Linked DNA regions of Homo sapiens: region 1 is linked to region 2. The links are contacts of gene promoters, found by promoter capture Hi-C in human tissues and cell types (Jung and others, 2019). All regions are on one chromosome and are shown on one strand. The core of a region is centred on a gene start or on the middle of the fragment in contact, and the rest is flanking DNA. Distances in the headings are between cores, read along the strand shown. Region 1 overlaps TXNRD2 (thioredoxin reductase 2). Region 2 holds the start of DGCR8 (DGCR8 microprocessor complex subunit).

The links. Contacts are between HindIII fragments. The study calls those that stand out against the background at their distance.
Region 1: a contact is called between a fragment that was not itself captured here and the fragment with the promoter of DGCR8 in region 2, in 1 of the 25 tissues and cell types used here (dorsolateral prefrontal cortex).

The regions. Positions count from the first base shown.
Region 1 is chr22:19,936,139-19,939,141 of GRCh38, forward strand. The region is part of intron 1 of TXNRD2 (thioredoxin reductase 2); the gene reads right to left. It overlaps LOC124905081 (endogenous retrovirus group K member 24 Gag polyprotein-like), which reads left to right. Exons shown (of 2, transcript XM_047441689.1): 2 at 1-1,851. The coding sequence starts at 723. The coding sequence ends at 1,688. Among named protein-coding and RNA genes, the nearest start is that of COMT, 4.1 kb to the right of the region's middle. The HindIII fragment of the contact is 4,369 bases long and covers 1-3,003 here.
Region 2 is chr22:20,078,608-20,081,508 of GRCh38, forward strand. It overlaps DGCR8 (DGCR8 microprocessor complex subunit), which reads left to right and starts at 1,634. Exons shown (of 14, transcript NM_022720.7): 1 at 1,634-1,776. RefSeq lists a silencer at 1,513-2,132 and an enhancer at 2,393-2,452. The HindIII fragment of the contact is 8,782 bases long and covers 1-2,901 here.

The DNA.
Region 1 (3,003 bases), core at 170-2,669, 140 kb before region 2:
AATTATGTTCCTGTCACTGTTTGGGGTGATTGGGCCTTGGTACGTGCCATCCTAATGACATACCAATCCCGTGACACCCTGCAGTTACCACAGTTTTCTGAATCTGGCCACCCTCTACCTCTTCCTCAGCTTTCCTCTCCCACTCGGCCTTCATTATCTGCTCAGCCCCTCCCTTTGCCTACTCCTCCCCCACCTGACGATACTGAGGATTCAATATCTAACTCCAGTGACTTTGGCTTAACATCACCCCCTGATGATCTTATTTCTTTTCACGAAGAGCCGACACTTGTAGCTCCTGCGGCCCCAACTCAGACAGCCCAGGACCATATCTATGCTAACTCTTCCCTCTCCAAACCTTTACAGTCTTTGCCTCCGGAGCCATCCAAACTACAATTTACCTGTAATTCTGCAGGCCCTCCCCCATCCACCACAGCCCCTCACCCTCCTATCATTTTGGTCCCTCAACCGGTCACTTTGCCATCCACTCAACCTGCTTCTCTGTACCCTTCTTCATGCAGGGACACCCCTGCCACTCTGGTTGTGCAGGACTGGGCCAGTAATCACCAGTATGCTTCTGCCTCTTCTGCTCCCCCAATGCCCCTTTCTCACACTCTTATACCAGTCCGACCCCGTCAATCTCAGTTTCTCTTATCTATACATACTTTTCCTGTCACTTCTATGCCGACTCTATCTCATGTGCCTGCTCTTGAAACTTTCATGCAATGCTTATTACGCCAAAACAAACAAGTAGATTAGAGGCGTGGGCTTATTCGGTCATGCTGGAACCTCCTAATGCTCAAGGGGTACAAGTGTGTCGATATACGCCGCTCAATCTTACCTTTTTAAAAGAATTCAAGGATGCTTGTACTCAGTATGTTCCTACTTCTCCATATGTTAAAACGGTATTACAGACTCTTTGTACCGAGGTCATTTTGCTTCCTATAGACTGCGACCTTTTGGCAAAAGCTGTTCTAACTCCATCTCAGCATTTACAATTCCATACCTGGTGGTCAGAGGAGGCCCGCCTGCAGGCTCAGCTAAATCGGGCTGATGGCATTCCAATTACTCAGGCTCAGCTCACAGGCTCCGATAATTACTCTGATACTACTGCTCATTTAGGCTTTGATGCTCTCACCACGGAACAAGTAACAAAGGTGTGTATGAGAGCTTGGGATAAATTACGCACCCCAGGCCAAGCTTCTGTTTCTTTTACTATTGTTAAACAGGGTCACAATGAATTATATCTTGATTTTTTAGCTAAATTACAAGATGCTGTTGAAAAATCTGTCTCTGATGAGCACACTCAAGGTATTCTTCTTCATATGTTAGCTTTTCAAAATGCGAACCATGAGTGTAAAATGGCCGTGCATTCCATCCTACGTCAAAATTTACCTGATCATGAGGTGTTGCCTGCATATATTAAAGCTTGTGAAGGCGTTGGATCGGAGACCCACAGAGCTATTCTGTGGGCACCGGCCATGAAGCACGGCAACCAAACTGGCTCGACTGATTCTTTTCTTGGAGCCTGCTATAATTGTGGCCAACTTGGTCATACCCAAAAAAACTACACTGTTAAAAACTTAAAAGCGGCCAAGCCGGCTCAACAAACACGGCCAAATGCTCCTGCTACTGTTTGCCTGCGTTGTCGTAAGGGTAAACATTGGGCAAGTACTTGCCACTCAGTCTGATATAGATGAAAATCCCTTGCCACAGAACCAGGGAAACAGGAAGCAAGGCCAGTCCCAGGCCCCAATATCAAATGGGACACCTCGGACTCAGACCAATGTTGTGTTTTTGCGTCAAGCAGTCCCAACGCAGCCCCCAGCACAAACAAATTTACCTACAGCCAATCCAGATGGGTCCCAGCCTCTTCTTCTGTCTCAGTACAATGCTTGTCTACCTCCACAGTAGGCAGCAGGGCGGTCGATCTCTGTAGTACCATTCCTCTAAATTTACTACCTAATTCTTTGCCTTTAATTGTCCCCATGGGGGTCACTGGCCCTTTACCTCAAGGTTCGGTGGGCCTGGTGTTAGGCAGGGCATCCACCTCATGATACTAAAGGTATCATAGTTCATACTAGTCTCATTAATTCTGATTCCTCTGATGAGATTAAACTTATGTAAACTTATGGTGTCTGCCAAAGTTCCTGTTTCCATTCCGGCCAGTGAGTCAATTGCTCAATTACTTTTACTACCTAACATTGTTTTAAACAAAGGAGATAAGACATGGGGCCCTGGGATGGGCTCCAGCGGTGAAAAAGCCGCTTATTGGATTAATGTAATTTCTAAACAATGGCCTACCTGCACCATACACATTCAAGGAAAAAAGGTTGAGGGCCTAGTTGATACTGGGGCTGATGTTTCTATTATTTCCTCTAATTTATGGCCTTCCTCCTGGCTTAAACATCCCACTAACATGAAACTAGAAGGTGTTAGAAAAGCTGAAGAAGTTCACCAGAGCACATTTATCTTGGCTTGCACTGGCCCTGATGGTCAAAAGGGAACAATTCAGCCTTATATCATGCCCATCCCCATTAATCTTCGGGGCAGAGATTTGCTGGCACAAATTGGGGCTGAAATTAATATTCCACATAACTTTTACAGTGCTCCCAGTCAACATATAATGGAAAACATGGGGTTTGTTTCCAGACTCGGTCTCGGTCCAAAACGTGAAAAAATTACTAAACCTCTTCAAGTTACTGTAAAAGAAGACAAGGCTGGTTTAAAAGCATAATTTAACTACTCCCCACTCCCAATTATATTTAGCATTGTTTAAGCTTTCTAAATGTTCCTAAAAACAATACTCTGACTGCAGCTAAATGCCATTATACAGGCAAAAAATTCTCCCTAAACGAAGGCAAGCCAGTGTCATGGAAAAACTCCCAAACCAATACCTGGGAACCTGGAACAATTATAACGTGGGGAAGAGGGTATGCTTGTGTTTTACCAGGAGATCGTCAATCCCGTCTGGGTGCCCACTAGGAGACTTAAACTTCGTGTGAA
Region 2 (2,901 bases), core at 384-2,883:
TTACACGCATGAGCCACTGTGCCTGGCCTTGCTCACTATTTTTTCTGGAGACGGTCTCGTTCTGTCACCCAGGTTGGAGTGCAGTGGCCCGATCTCAGATCATTGCAACCTCCACCTCCCGGGTTCAAGCGATTCTCCTGCCTCAGCCTCCCGAGTAGCTGGGATTACAGGTGCCTGCTACCACGCCTGGCTACTTTTTGTATTTTCAGTAGAGATAAGGTTTCGCCACGTTGCCCAAGCTGGTGTGGAACTCTTGAGCTCAGGTGATCCGCCTGCTTCGGCCTCCCAAAGTACTGGGGTTACAGGCGTGAGCCACAGGGCCCGGCCCACTATTTTTATCACTCAAGATTTTCGTCTACAGCAGCTATTATTGGGGTGGCTACCCAGTGGAAAATTTTTCTATTTCCACTATTCCTTCCACATTTATTGACAGGAAAGCTAGTCTAAGGAAGAGCTGTACCCTCACTTACTCAGACCCTCGTTTTCCTTTTTTTTTTTTTTTTTTTTGAGACGGAGTCTCACTCTGCCGCCCAGGCTAGAGTGAAAGTGGTGCTATCTCGGATCACTGCAGCCTGGAACTCCTGGACTCAGGTGATCCTTCCACCTCAGCCTCCCGAGTAGCTCGGACCACAGGCGCCCGCCACCACGCGGCTAATTAAAAATAATTTTGGGCCCGGCGCGGTGGCTCATGCCTGTAATCCCAGCACTTTGGGAGGCCGAGGCGGGCAGATCAATTGAGGCCAGGAGTTTGATACCAGCCTGGCCAACATGGTGAAACCCCGTCTCTACCAAAAATATAAAAATTAGCCGGGCGTGGTGGTGGGCGCCTGTAATCCCAGTTACTCGGGTGGGTGAGCCAGGAGAATCGCTTGAATCCGGGAGGCAAAGGTTGCAGTGAGCTGAGATCGCGCCACTGCACCCCAGCCTGGGAGACAAAGCGAGACACCGCCTCAAAAAAAAAAAAAAAAAGAAAGAAAATTTGTAGATACTGGGCTCTCACTATGTTAGCCAGGCTGGTCTCGAACTCCTGGGCTCAAGTAATCCTCCTGACTCGACCTCCCAAAACTCTGGGATTACAGGCGCAAGCCACCGTGCCCGGCCGAACCACCGTGCCCGGCCGAACCCTCCCTGTTTTGGAAATCCTGTATTAGCAAAGGGGACAGCGCCAGACAGTTGAGCACACGCGTTCTTTATAAATGATGATGTCTGATACAGTGATGCTTTTAACAGGGTTGTGTAACGCCTGTGTGTGCACGGTCTCTTCTGCAGTGTCCACCGAAGGTGGCCCGTCTGCGTGTCCGCTCCCGGCGTACTCCGCGCTCCCTGTTCCCGGCATTCCCCGCGCTCCCCGAGCTTCCCGCGCTCCCCTGCTCCCGGCATTCCCGGTGCTTCCCGTTCCCGGCGCTCCTCGCGGCCGCCGCCCTCAGTCCAGCGAGCCCCGCCTGGGCAGCGACTGTTAGCGCGACCGCGGCCTGGGCGCCTGGTCCCTCCCGCGCGGCCGCGCTATTGGGCCGCGCGCGGCGGACACACGCGCTACGCGCCGCCGATTGGCGGCCTCCGCAGCGCGCTCTGCGGCTCCCCCAATGCGGGGCGGCCGCGCGCGGGGATTGGCCGCACGCCGCGAAGGCCCGCCCTCCGCTCGCCCGGCGCGGCAGGCGGGTGCCGGCGACCGGAGAGCCTGGACAGGCTTTCCAGATGGCTGCGGCGGTCGGTCGGTGAGGCTTTCCCGGCTGTGGTTTGGCTGCGGGCGGCTTGGGCAGCCCGCGGGCGCCTCAGGTAGGTGCGGGGCGCGAGGGGCGCCCGCGGGCGGTTGGGCGGGCGCCGCGGCCTGCGCGAGGGCGCGCCCTTCCCTCCCGCCTCCCTCCGGGACCGAGGCCGCGGGCGGGGCGGGGGCGCGGAGCCCGGCCTTTGTGAGGCAACATGGCCGCGGGCGGTGGAGAGCGCGGGGTGGGGACGCCTCCGGGGCTGGGGGGCGGGCCCCGGGCCCAGGCGTTGCCGACTCTCGTCGCTGTCCGCCCGGGTAAAGAGGCTCCTCTCCCGGAGGGCCCGAAGCCTAGCATCGCCTTCAGGCGGGAAAGGTGTGGACAGGGCCAGTGCTCGCCTGGGACCCTGCCGGCTTTAACACAGTTTGGGAAATCCAAGAAGTCGCCTAAGTCTTTTTGTCCACAGAATGCTCACGGGTTGAGTGTCACGTAGATAATTGGGATACGGTTTTATTGTAACAATGAGCATGGCGGAAATAAATGGAAGGTGGCAACCTGTTGACAGTGATGCCTGTCTGGTGTCAACCGATGGACTTGGGTTTCTTGTGGCAGGAGTCTGATTTGCCTTTTTGCATGCTTGCATGTACCTTGTTCCTGCACGGCAGTCCTGTCTTTGGCTGTCGACTGTTCGAGGCCAACCACCAGGCGAGGATCCACTGTTTCCTGGCCAGACTAGACTCCCAGCTGTGGGAGTGGCCCAAACCCTGCTGCAGGCCTTCACTCACAAAAGGGAGTGAATGGCCAGCCCGGGGTACCCAGTGTTGCCTCTAAGTGCGGGATATGAGGCCTGTTGGAGGATGACAAAAGGAACGGATGAGGTCATACTGCCGCTGGGTTGGGCGGGAGGCTGCAGCGGGAGAGACTTGACCAAAAGGCAGCCTCCATGGCGCTGGCACTGGTGCTGGCCCGTCACAGCCAGTGCCTCTGTTAGCCAACACAGCAAGTGGGCTAGGAGGAAGGGTGCTGTCCAAGTGTACGGGTTTTCTCCCCGTGCCAAGGGTCCAGGGGAGCTTGCCGTGAGCCCGTTCCTGTCCGATAGTCCTGTTGGCAAGGCAGGGTTTGCATGCGGTGTTTGGTCAGCTGGAGCAGTGGGGAGGCCTACGGGCAGAGAGCTCCCCTTTGAGCCCTTTGCGGCCAG